Regions from separate parts of the Homo sapiens genome. Here regions 2, 3 and 4 are each linked to region 1. Evidence: promoter capture Hi-C in human tissues and cell types (Jung and others, 2019). All regions are on one chromosome and are shown on one strand. Each heading gives the region's core, a stretch centred on a gene start or on the middle of the fragment in contact. The rest is flanking DNA. Distances are from core to core; before and after follow the strand shown.

What was found. Contacts are between HindIII fragments. The study calls those that stand out against the background at their distance.
Region 2: a contact is called between a fragment that was not itself captured here and the fragment with the promoter of MRPS24 in region 1, in 1 of the 25 tissues and cell types used here (dorsolateral prefrontal cortex).
Region 3: a contact is called between a fragment that was not itself captured here and the fragment with the promoter of MRPS24 in region 1, in 1 of the 25 tissues and cell types used here (H1 embryonic stem cells).
Region 4: a contact is called between a fragment that was not itself captured here and the fragment with the promoter of MRPS24 in region 1, in 2 of the 25 tissues and cell types used here (IMR-90 fibroblasts and liver).

What each region holds. Positions count from the first base shown.
Region 1 is chr7:43,868,227-43,871,336 of GRCh38, reverse strand. It overlaps MRPS24 (mitochondrial ribosomal protein S24), which reads left to right and starts at 1,820. Exons shown (of 4, transcript NM_032014.3): 1 at 1,820-1,880; 2 at 1,961-2,029; 3 at 2,263-2,374. The coding sequence starts at 1,842. URGCP-MRPS24 (URGCP-MRPS24 readthrough) reads left to right here. Exons shown (of 7, transcript NM_001204871.2): 5 at 1,961-2,029; 6 at 2,263-2,374. The coding sequence ends at 2,351. It overlaps LOC124901620 (a long non-coding RNA gene), which reads right to left and starts at 1,691. Exons shown (of 2, transcript XR_007060296.1): 1 at 503-1,691; 2 at 1-389. RefSeq lists an enhancer at 1,339-1,458 and silencers at 1,689-1,748, 2,049-2,108. The HindIII fragment of the contact is 19,139 bases long and covers 1-3,110 here.
Region 2 is chr7:43,592,764-43,595,865 of GRCh38, reverse strand. All of the region lies in intron 1 of STK17A (serine/threonine kinase 17a), which reads right to left. Among named protein-coding and RNA genes, the nearest start is that of STK17A, 11 kb to the right of the region's middle. The HindIII fragment of the contact is 8,630 bases long and covers 1-3,102 here.
Region 3 is chr7:43,546,668-43,549,834 of GRCh38, reverse strand. The region is part of intron 26 of HECW1 (HECT, C2 and WW domain containing E3 ubiquitin protein ligase 1); the gene reads right to left. Among named protein-coding and RNA genes, the nearest start is that of LUARIS, 26 kb to the right of the region's middle. The HindIII fragment of the contact is 4,626 bases long and covers 1-3,167 here.
Region 4 is chr7:43,500,347-43,503,673 of GRCh38, reverse strand. It overlaps HECW1 (HECT, C2 and WW domain containing E3 ubiquitin protein ligase 1), which reads right to left. Exons shown (of 30, transcript NM_015052.5): 20 at 2,892-2,975; 21 at 2,352-2,461. Among named protein-coding and RNA genes, the nearest start is that of LUARIS, 21 kb to the left of the region's middle. The HindIII fragment of the contact is 5,387 bases long and covers 1-3,327 here.

The DNA.
Region 1 (3,110 bases), core at 571-3,070:
TGGGCCCCAATAGGTGTTGTGCCATTGCCACCTCTGCCTCTGATCAGCCCAAGGATCTTGTTTCCCTTTCTCCTTCCCCTTTCCTCTGATTAGGGTGGTGTTGCTATGAGTTCTCACAGAACCCTCAATAGCTGGCTCATCTCCCTAACGGGATATGTGGCTATCAGGGACTCGTTAAAAACAACAACAAAACCCACAACTGCTCTCTCCCTCTGCCAGGCACATCATACTGTACTTCTCACAACCACCATTATTGTCCCCAGTTTACAGATGAGAGAAACCGAGGCTCAGAAGGTTCAGTCACTTGTCCAAATTACACAGCCAGGAAGCATTGGGTCCACGATTTGGACTCAGGCAATTCAGATGCCACATCCCATGTTCCTCACCACCTTGGAGCAAATTAATGAAACTTAACAATTATAAAATTATTGAACATTATGAAAACTTTAAAAAATAATTGTCAGTTGAAAAGGATTTCTTAGGAAATGTTGAAAGTTCTTACATTTGCAAAGTATGCATTGGAGGGCACCTCATCCCTGTTCTGTCCCTTTATTCAATATGCATAACAGTTGGGGGCCGCAGTTCCTAAAAAGTAAGAATAAAACATTTCTGGTGAAGTGGACATGGAAGACCTTGTCCTTTTATTACGGGTTTTTTGAGAACCCACCTTCATGTAATCAGAGGAATCTTGGTCATGGGAAATGGGCTGGACTGAAGTCAAGAGACTTGTGTCTTGGTCCCTCTTTCCCTCTTCTCAGTGTGGTCATGGGCAACTCATTTCCACCGTTCTTCCATTTCCCCTTCCCATGGATCATAATCCAGTCCTCCCCCTGACAGGAAACCGCAGCAGTATGCAAGTACTGTACCATTAAGGGGAATGATGTAGACCCAGAACGGCCAAAACATTGGCAATTTCACATCACTCAACCAAACACAACCCATCATTGATTAAATATTCTCTTGATCCTAATAGCTCTATAAGGTAGTACTATTATTAAGGCCCATTTTATAGATAATAGAACTGAGTCTTAACTGTACAAAGATTGTTATACATGGGTCTGACTCCAGAGCCCGTGTTTTTTCCATGACCGTGGTGACTTCTAAAATAAAATATCCCGCGTTGCTATTTTTCCGTTTGACATTAATAATTACTGGATACCAATAATAGTGGCGACGCACTGGTTTCAGCATTACAGGCCCTGCGATATTCTCACGAATCTCCTTGCCCTCCGGCCCCTTCCCCGTACTTAAAATTTTCCTTCCTCAGGGGCCAGTCACCACTGTGGTCACATGTGGCAAACCCATTCTTGCATAACTGCGTAAGTCATCCTTGAAGAATTGGGTGACGTTTTAACCAAAATATGTTTCTTCTTTATTTGTGGATAAAAGTCTGGAGGGTTTTTCTGTTTTGTTTTTCTACGAATATTATTTGGAGGCATAACTAGGACCTGGGGAAACGCTTGGCTCCTCTTCGAGCCCCGAGGGTGCAGGTTGGGCAGGGCGGGCTCCGGTGGGCCGCACACCCATCACCCGTACTAGCGTGAGGTTGTCGAAGAGAAAATCTCACGTTTCGCATCCTCAAATTTCCGGATCTGAAACCCTATGCAAGCAGCAACCGCGGGAGAGCGAACAGCGGCGGGATGAGCATTCACAAGGCTGAGCATTCACAGGGCTGCGGGGAAGGCGGGAGTAACAGCTAGCAGCATACCGCGGCCCCGCCCCGCAGAGGCCCTGCCCCGCCCCCGCCAGAGTACAGAGTACGAGCTCCGACTTGGTCTCGTCCGCGGTCGTCCCCACCCCTCAGCGCGCTGTGGTACGTCCCGCGCTCCGCTTGGCCCAAGATGGCGGCCTCCGTGTGCAGCGGGTTGCTGGGGCCACGGGTGAGTGGGGCGACTCGGCAGGTCCCTGCGAGTCGGAGGTGGGGTCCCTAGTTTCCGCCTCACGCGCCCTCCCTCCACAGGTGCTGTCCTGGAGCCGAGAGCTGCCTTGCGCTTGGCGCGCCCTGCACACCTCCCCGGTCTGCGCCAAGGTGAGCACCGCCGGGGCAGGGGCCTGGGGGCCTGGGGGCCGGGGGGCCGGGGGCCGGGGAAGCCGTGCGGGCTGAAGGGGGCGTGTCGCTGGGGTCCGAGGCGGGGCTAGGGTCGGGGCTTAGGGATCAGGGGATTGGGGCCGGGGAACAGTGCCAGCTGACTGGGGGGACATGGCGCGAAGTAGGGGTCTGGATCGGGGATCTCGTGGAGTCACGGCCCCTTTTGCTCCTAGAACCGGGCGGCCCGAGTACGCGTAAGCAAGGGGGACAAGCCGGTGACCTACGAGGAGGCACACGCGCCGCACTACATCGCCCACCGTAAAGGCTGGCTGTCGCTGCACACAGGTGAGCGGACCCCAGGCCTCCAAAAGGAGCACTCAATCCGACTGTCATGTAAACAAAATGAACACGTGTCACAGGTTTTCTTTAACTCAGGAAATAATGCTAGGGTCAGAAATCTATGAAACCAACTCAAGGGAGACATAAAAAAGCAGAGATATATATAGATCAGGATGTTGAAACAAATTTGAAGATGGATGCAAAACTGACTTTTTCCATGGCAGGCAGGGACTCAATTGATCCTCCACTGAACAGAAATTATTTGCATGTCTACAGACAAGAATTATTTTGCATTCCTGTCAGTTATCTGTAATTTACAGAGCTGTAAAATAGCTCAGAGTCAAGGAAAGGAGTGAAACCGTTGCAGAATCTGATAACCCTGAACAGTGTGCTCTAAGGAATGCAGTTTTCCACTAAAGCACAAATTTTTCTCTGTAAATATATACAGACAACCCTCGTTATTCATGAATTCCATATTTTCAGATTCTTCTACTGACTAAAATTTATTTGTAAGCCCCAAATCAACACTCTGGGCACTCTCAAGGTCACTCTGAGATGTGGGTGGAGCTGCCACCCCAGGTGCATGTCCCGAGCTGAGGTCGACAAGGCTCTGCCTAGTTTCAGCTCTCGTACTGTAAAAGGTGTCCTTTTTATGGTCTAGAATCTTTTTTTTTTAATTTGCATTTTCGTGCTTTTTGTTAGTGATTTTGCTGTTTAAAATGGCCTTGCAATGCTGAAGTGC
Region 2 (3,102 bases), core at 323-2,822, 280 kb after region 1:
ACAACTTTCCAGAGATGGCAGATTTCAATGAAATTTCCAAATACCCATTGGTAGATATTCAAATTTAGCTTATATACAATCACAAAAGTAGAAACATCACTTAGAAATTTATATAGGCTACATCTATAGATTTATAGATTTATCAAATAAAACAAAATGTATAAACCTGCACAATTCATTTTCTAAAGAATAACAAATATTAAAGTCCATTTTTTTGCAGAGTTACACATAACTTAATTTTTTGCACATTTATACATAAAATGATTTAGGTCTCTAAAAAAGCCAGTTGAAGCCAGGCATGGTGCACCTTTGTAATCTCAGCATTTTGGGAGGCTGAGGCAGGTGGCTCACTTGAGGTCAGGAGTTCTGGACCAACCTGGCCAAAATGGCGAAACCCTGTCTCTACTAAAAATACAAAAATTAGCCAGGTGTAGTAGTGCTATGCCTGTAATCCCAGCTACTCAGGAGGCTGAGGCATGGGAATCGCTTGAACCTGGGAGGTGGAGGTTGCAGCGAGCTGAGATCATGCCACTGCACTCCAGACTGGATGACAGAGTGAGACTCTGTCTCCAGGGGGGAAAAAAAAAAAAAAAAAAAAGCCATTTGATTTTTTAATAGAAATTGGTCACCAGAATCCCTAATATGATGAATTTCACTGCACTAATTGACTCTAAAGAGCACTATCACTTTCTAAAGGTAAGGATCTCACTCATTTATCATTTTAACTAGAGCGTCAGCTAGAAATGTATTTTCTCATAAAGACAGATACAACAAAGTGTTATATTGATACATTACTATTTGTCATTACACTAATAAGTGGGTAAACCAGGGACTCAGTATAGCATACTGATTAAAAGTATGAGCTCTGGAATTAAACCTATGTGGGCTTGAACCCTATAAGTGGCACTTGACAGTAACCTTAGGTGGTTTATTTAACCTCTTTTAGTTTCATTTTTCTTTTCTTTTCTTTCTTTCTTTTTTTTTTTTTTTAAGAGACTGGGTCTCTCTATGTTGCTCAGGCTAGTATTGAACTCCTGGCCTCAAGTGATCCTGCTAGGATTAAAGGCATGAGCCTCCATGCCCTAAGTCTCATTTTTCTAATCTGTATAATAGGGACACAAATGGCATCTACTTCACAGGGTTCTAAGAATTAAAGAATAATATATTTCAATTGCTTAGCATGGTACTTGCCACACAGTAAGTGCTCAATAAATATTACTAATCACACAAACATCATTAAGCTGTGATAGTCATCACCCGTAAACATCCACTGAATCCTTAGGTTGAAAGACAACTTAGAAATCATACAGTATTTTACCTAACACCAAATGCCAATGTCTTATTTCAAACTGTGAGGTAATCTTTTCCACTACTGGGTACATATTATCTTAATAAGGTCTTCATTACAAGCCTAAACCTGACTTCAGTTGAAGGGTTACAGTCAGGGTCCTCTGCTGAGCAGTACAGACCAGACCTCACTCTCTTTTCCACATGGCAGTCTATCAGATACTGAACACAGCAAACACCATCTGTTAGCTGCCACTCCCTCTTCCCTTTCCCAATTTGCAATCAATCCCCATCCCCATGGGTTTTTTTTTTTTCCTTTAAGAGACAGGGTCTCACTCTGTTGCCCAGGCTGGAGTGCAGTGGCACCATCATAGCTCAATGCAGCCTTGGACTTCCGGGCTCAAGTGATCCTCCCACCTCAGCCTCCTGTATAGCTGGGATTACAGGCACATGCCACCATGCCCACCTCCCCATAAGGTTGACTCCCTATTATGGCTCAGCAGAAAATGTGCCAACCAAATCTGAAGCAACTAATCCAGGTATAATCGATCAAAGCATTACATCATTATTATTTTTGTTGCTCCTGGAACAATACAACCTAAGATTGATTGTTAAAAAACTTGACATGTTTTCATATTTCAAATTGGGCTGATAAACTACCTAGATTTTTTTCCACCTTGAATTTTTATCAAGTCAGTATCCTCATACTATATTTTAAAAATGATTGCTAAAAAATTTGGAATAATCAACAGCATAAACAGACAACCTACAGAATGGGAAAAAATATTTGCAAACTATGCCTCCAACAAAGGGATGATATCCAGAATCTACAAGGAACTCAAAAAACGAGAAAAAAAAACAACCTCATTGTTTTTTTTTTTTATATGAACAGACATTTTTTCAAAAGAGCAGCAAACAAACACATTAAAAAATGTTCAACATCACTAATCATCAGAGAAATGCAAATTAAAATCACAATGAGGTACTGCTTTACAGCAGTTGGAATGGCTATTAGTAAAAAGTTAAAAAACAACAAATGTTGGCGAACATACAAAGAAAAGGGAACGCTTATACACTGCTGGTGGAAATGTAAATTAGTTCAGCCACTATGGAAAGTAGTTTAGAGATTTCTCAAAGAACTACCATTTGACTTGGCTATCCCATTACAGGGTATCTGCCCAAAGGAAAAGAAATTATTGTATGAAAAAGACACCTGCACTCATATGTTAATCACAGCCCTATTCATAATAGCAAAGATACCAACCTAAGTGTCCATCAGTGGATGACTGGACTAAAAATATGGTGTGTATATGTATCATGGACTACTACACAGCCATAAAAATGATGTCTTGTGCAGTAACATGGATGGAACTGGATGTCATTATCCTAAGTGAGATGACTCAAGCAGGAAGTAAAAAACTGCCTGTTTTCACTTTTAAGTGGGAACTAAATGGATACACAGGCATAGAGTGGAAAAACAGACCAAACAGTAAGAGAGTGGGAAGGGGGTGAGGAATTAAATACTACCTATTGGGTACAATGTACGCTATTTAGGTGATGAGCACACTAAAAGCCCAGACTTCACCATGACCCAATATATCCATGTGACACAAATGCACTTGTACCCCTGAATCTATTTTTTTAAAAAGCTTTCTAAAAAATTAAGTGCAAGGCTTTAATTGCCCTGTTAAATTCTTTTTTGTTGTTGTTTTTGAGACACAGTCTCGTTCTGTCACCCAGGCTGGAGTGCAGTGGCACGATCTCGGCTCACTGCAACCTCCGCTTCTCGGGTTCAAGCAATTCTCATGCCTCAGC
Region 3 (3,167 bases), core at 172-2,671, 320 kb after region 1:
CTCAATGACAGCAAATTCTTAACAGCCATCAGCTTCCACTCCCACAGCTGGCCAGAAGACAGTGGTCTTCTGGCAGAGGGTGGGGTATAATATTACACAGCCAGGGCAGCCTGACCCTGGGAAGGGAACCAGAAGCATGTAGGCACACACAGCAAATGGCGCTGCCACTTGTGTGATGATGCCTGTTTGTTAGGACATGCTTGAGTCATCAGGGAAGGCTATTATCTGTGTATCATCTTTTCACAGGCAAGGAGGTAGATAACATGCTAGACATTTTTTAAAAAATCAAAATATGTTCATGTATGAAGGGGGTAATCTTCAGTCATCTTAAATTCACTTAAGGGCTCACTGCAATGCTCAATGCTGCAAGACAAATGAGGCATCACTGGACTTAGTTACTGGTTTAAAGAAAAAAATACATATATGTTTGGCACTTGTGGACACAGGTACCTAAACAAAGCAGTCCATAAGTAGTCTGATGGTGACTTTTTCTTTTATCACTTAGGTGATTAGTGCCAATTATAAAATATTGGCTAATGATAAAATACTTGTTACCACCCAGCATCCATATTCTTTGGAATGTCTGATTTTTAGCGGCCCAGTTAAAGACTTTATTTTCCAACCTCTCTCACAGCTAGGTGTGGCATGTAAGTAAATTCTGTCCAATGGGATGTAAGCAGAAGTGTATGGCACTGTCAGGAGGCCTCCTTGAAGGGATGGGCTGTGTGTTCCTTTGTCCGGCTGCACTGAACACAGTTGTGATGGTTGGGATGCTGTACGCATCTGGGCTAAGAGTGCAGGGGGCCTACCCTAGCGATAGCAGTGGGGAGACCTGGAAGGAGCTTGATCCCTGAGGATTTTATCAAACAGAGCTTTTTTTGTTTTTGTTTTGAGACAGGGTCTCACTCTGTCACCCAGGCTGGAGTGCAGTGGTACAATCTCAGCTCTCTGCAACCTCTCTCTCCCAAGCTCAAGCGATTCTCCCACCTCAGCCTCCCAAGTAACTGGGACTATAGGTGCATGCCACCACACCTGACTAATTTTTTTTTATTTTTAGTACAGACAGGGTTTCGCCATGTTGGCCAGGCTGGTCTTGAGCTCCTGGCCTCAAGCGATCCACCCGCCTTGGCCTCCTGAAGTGCTAGGATTATAGGCGTGGACCACCACACTCAGCCTCAACAGGGCTTTTATATGAGAAAAAAAAAGCTTCTATTAATTTCAACAGGGTCATTTTTGGCTTCTTCACTAGTAGCTGAATCTAATCCTAAAGCCTACGGTGTCTTTCACCTGCATCCCTCTGCTCTCCACTGTCTAACAACTTGACAAAAGAAGGGCTGCAATTCAATCTTCTAAAACCACTCATTGTTCTTGGTGACCCCCTTTTGAAGAGAAATGAGATAAACTTTAAACAGGTATACAGGCTGACCCTTGAGCAGCGTGGGTTTGGACTGCATGGGTCCACTCGTACATGGATTTTTTTCAATAAATATATTGGGAATTTTTTTGGAGACTTACAACAATTTGAAAAAACTCGCAGATGACCTGCATACCTAGAAAATTAATAGAAGCTTTTTTAAAATGAAAAAAAAAGTTAGAAATGTAATGAGTCCATAAAATATATGTAGATACTAGTCTATTTTATCATTTACTAACATAAAATGTACACAAATCTATTATTAAAAAGTTAAAATTTATGAAAATGTACACACACAAACACTTAGAGCCTGTACATGGTGCCACTGGCAGTTGAGACAAATACAAACATCAAAATGCGGTATTAAATCATAACTGCATAAAATTAACTGTAGTACATACTGTACTATTGTAATAATTTTGTAGTCACCTCCTGCTGTTTTTTGCGATGAACGCAAGTGTTGCTGATGAATAGCCTCTCTCCAGTAAACTGTGTATCACAGTAAAAAGTGATCTTTCTTGTTTACTGAATATTTTCCACTGTGTTTAAGTGCAATATTGTAAACTTTGAATAACATTGTGGGACCCACACGAAGGGCCACTAATGATGCTGGAAATACTCCCAAGAAGCAGAGAAAAATCATGATATTACAAGGGAAAATTGAATTACTTGATAGGCACCATAGATTGAGGTCTGCAGATGTGGTTGCCCATCTTTTCAAAATAAATGAATCCAGCATAGGGACCATTGTAAAAAAGGAAAACGAAATTCATGAAGCCATCACTGCAGCTATGCCAGCAGGTGTGAAAACCTGGCACTTTTTGTGGAATATCTTTTTATCTCATATTGAAAACACAGCTTTTTTTTTTTTCTTTGAGCCAGAGTCTCACTCTGTCGCCAGGCTGGAGTGCAGTGGCGCAATCCTGGCTTGCTGCAATCTCTGCCTCCTGGGTTCAAGCGACTCTCCTGCCTCAGCCTCCCGAGTAGCTGAGATTACAGGCACGTGCCACCACACCTGGTTAATTTTTGTATTTTTAGTAGAGATGGGGTTTCACTATGTTGGCCAGGATGGTCTCGATCTCTTGACTTTGCGATCTGCCCACCTTGGCCTCCCAAAGTGCTGGGATTACAGGCATGAGCCACCATGCCTGGCTGAAAACACAGCTTTTATGTGAGTGCAGTATTGCTAGAACAATGGCATACATACCTGTAGACTCTAATATGATTCTAGATAAAGCAAAGTCATTATATGATAACTCAAAGCAAAAGGAAGGTGAAGGATCTAAAGTTGGAAAATTTAATGCCAGCAAAGGACGGTTTGATAATTTTAGAAACAGGTTTGGCTGAAAAAAATGTCAAGATAAGAAGAGAAGCAGCTCGTGCTGACCAAGAGGCAGCAGACGAATTCCCAGACACCATTAAGAAAATCACTGAGGAGAAAGGATATCGGCCTGTACAGGTTTTTAATGCAGGCGAAAGTGCCCCGTTCTGGAAAAAAAGCACCACAAAGGTCCCTTATTAGTAAGGAAGATAAGTGAGCACCAGGATTTAGGGCAGGAAGTGATAGGCTAACTCTGCTGTTTTGTGCAAACACATTTGGATTTATGATCAGGATTGCCCTTATCCATTAAAGCTTTAACCCCCGAGCCTTGAAGAGAAAAGATAACACCAGCTGCCAACAAGAAAGCCTGGATAATGAGAACCTCTTTTCTGGATTGGTTCTGTCAGTGCTTTGTTCCCGAAGTTAGGAAGT
Region 4 (3,327 bases), core at 693-3,192, 370 kb after region 1:
TTTAAAATCAACGTATTTGGATTACATATTCTAGGACCCTGTGGTCAATGCTAGAGAATAAAGAAGTACTTTGACAAAATGAATTGGATGATTACTTAGATTCACGGCATCAGTCATATCTCTATCAGGAAAGTTTATTCCTTTTAGAATATCCAAATAATTCTCATATAGGAAATAACTCTTCATTTACTCTTATTTTTCTATTTGCAATATGATATCTCTCCCATATAATGATGTTAACATCATAGTCTAGTATCAAAGTCTGTAGACCAAAGCATAGGCACATTATCAGGCTGGGACAATCTCTACAACATGGCAGACCATCATGCAGTCCTACAGCTTCTCCAAACTTTTCCCCCCAAACCCCTTACTTTTGTCTTCGCTCCCCAAAAGTAGGTCATCCTATGAGTGCTAAAAGTGTGTGACTGTATTGATGTCGGCTCCAGCAAAGCTCCTGGTCTTTTTAGGCAATGGGATTTAATTATGTTGTGCGTCAGAGGTAGCAAGCATTGCACATTTCCTTAACAATGCTGTTGGTACACTTGTTTGGAGGAAGTGACAACAGGGAGATACTATCTTGAAAACATATTTTAACGACGAGCACAACTACCTCTAAGAGGGACTTCTGAATGCTACAACTTGGAGGAACCAGACTAAAAGATACTCTAGTCTGGAGACCTACGGCAGTACTGAATGATACTAACTCTGAGTGCGACATCCCTTCTCAGAGACAAAGCTTATTACCAAGTTCTGTTTCTCTTGGGAATTTTACCACTGGCTTCAAAAACCATGCTCCAACCCTGGCCCTAGAGCTTCTGAGATAGGATGTTCCTACATGTTTCAAACTGATCTCTTTTACTTTAAATGAAACCTACAACAATGTGATAATGCAAGTCAAATACGAATGGAAAAATTCTCCAATATCTGGATCCAGTCTGGAGGTATGGATTTGACCTAAGCTCTTTATCTTGATGAATCCAGAAAATATCTTTTTTTTCGTTTGTTTGTTTTTTGAGACAGGGTCTTGCTCTGTTGCCTAGTGCTTGGAGTGCAGTGGCACAATCTCGGTTCACTGCAACCTCTGTCTCCTGGGTTCAAGAGATCCCGCCTTAGCCTCCTGAATAGCTGATACTAAAGGCGTGCACCACCACACCTGGCTAATTAAAAAAAATTTTTTTTGGTAGAGATGAGGTCTCACTATATGGCCCAGGCTGGTCTCGAACTCTTGGGCTCAAGTGATCCGCCCACCTCAGCTTCCCAAAGTGCTGGGATTACGCGGGTTAGCCATTGTGTCTGGCGAAAATATCTTTTATTCACTAAACAGTTCAACATATGTATTCTCTCACTTGGAATGGAAAATACCTGCAAAGAATTTTTGTACCACAAGTTCATTCTCATACATAAAGAAAACAGGAGGAATAATTTTGAAATGTGTAAGGAAATTCTTTGGAATCTTTGTGGAGATATAACAATGGTTCCTAGTAGCTGTATCACCAAAAGTGGTGTGCAATCGATTCAGAGTCACAAGGCAGAATGTTTCAGAAAGGGCTCTTCCGTTTGAAATGCTCGGAGAGTGACTTTGGAATGCAACAATTTAGAGCAGGGACAGTAACCTTTTTCTGCAAAGGACCAGAGAGTAAATATTTGAGGCTTTGCAGACCATGTGGTTTCTGTTGCTATTACTCAAGTCTGGTGTGAAAGCTAGCATAGAACAGGCATGGCTGAGGTCCAATTACACTTTATTTATGGACACTGCAATTTAAATTTCATACAGTTTTCACATGTCATAAAATACTGTCTTAATTTTTTTCTTTTCTTTCTTTCTTTCTTTTTTATTTTTTTTTAGATAGGGACTCTCTTTGTTGTATGGGCAGGAGGGCAGTGGTGAAATCATAGCTCACTGCAGCCTCAACCTGCTGGGCTCAAGGAACCCTCCTGCTTCAGCCTCCCTAGTAGCTGGGACTACAGGCACATGCTACCTCACTTGGCTTAGTTTTAATTTTTTTGTAGAGAAGGGGAGCTCGCTATGTTGCCCAGGCTGGTCTTGAACTCCTGGACTCAAGTGATCCTTCTGGCTTGGCCTCCCAAAGCCCTGGGATTATAAGCATGAGCCACCTGCCCAGCAAAACATTTTTTTCCCAACCATTTCAAACTGTAAACCCCATTCTAGCTTGGGGGGCATTACAAAAAACAGGCAGCCATTTGTCAAAACCTGATAGAGTGCATTTTCAATTAGGGAATTGGGAAGGCCGAGAGAAAGAACACACACATACAGTTGCCTTTCATTCACCTTCACTGGAGGAAACACACGTGGCCACTTAACAGGAGCTATTAGGCCAGATTCCTGTTACCTGGGGAGTTCTGAGGTGAAGAACAGGGTGAACATCGGGGAGAGAAGCTATACCCAGGGTGGAAGGCAGCCTGCAGGGGGACGTAGGACATAATCTCTTCTTCAAAGAGACTGCATATGAAAAAAAAAAAAAAAAAAAAGAAAGAAAAGAAAGTCAGTTTTACATCCCTGAGAAAGTGTTCACGAATTGGGGTAGCAGCACTTACACTTCTCACAAAGCAACAAAAGCAATTAGATTTAAATGTAGTACAGAAAGATAGGTACATGCTGCTTGCAAATTCTCAGTGTTGTTTTAAACCTTGATTAATCCTACAACAAAGTCTCCATCAAGTACTTTACGCAGCTCTTGCTAGCTCAATTGCAAATCTAAGGACTGTGATGGACACAGGTACAAGGGTGGGGTCCCACTTGCGTTGCAGTTACTAGAATCCTCTAGAACAAGCGGTGAGTTTTTCAGTCTAGGCCATTTTCAGGGTGGCCGTGATGGAGGAGAGCTGCCCAGGGAAGCTTTTCCAGAAGGATTTCAGGCCTAGCCCCCTACCTCAGCAAAATGACCAGATCCGCATCACAGGACAACTTCTCAAGCCCGTGATTACCCTCAGTCCGAATGTAATGGATTTTCTCCCTGAATCATGTGAGAAAGAAGAGGAAAATTAGATGCCAACACATAAACTCAGAAATACATTTTCTTCTGATCTCTTATTTCCTCTTCCAATACTGCTGAATAGCAATGTCCTAACGTCCTATGTATTTTGCAGAATTCTAAGTTTGTATCACAGGCTCTCAGGATGCTCTATGAGGGATGGCTTTTCTACAGACTTGCACAGGTACAGAAGCTGAGGAACACAGCAAAGTTAGGTCCTCAGGTAGCTAAGACAGTCAGGAGTGGAGCTGGGTAAGAGATTGCTCCTGAAAGACTGTTCTGGGGCGGGGCACAGTGGCTCACACTTGTAATCCCAGCACTTTGGGAGGCTGAG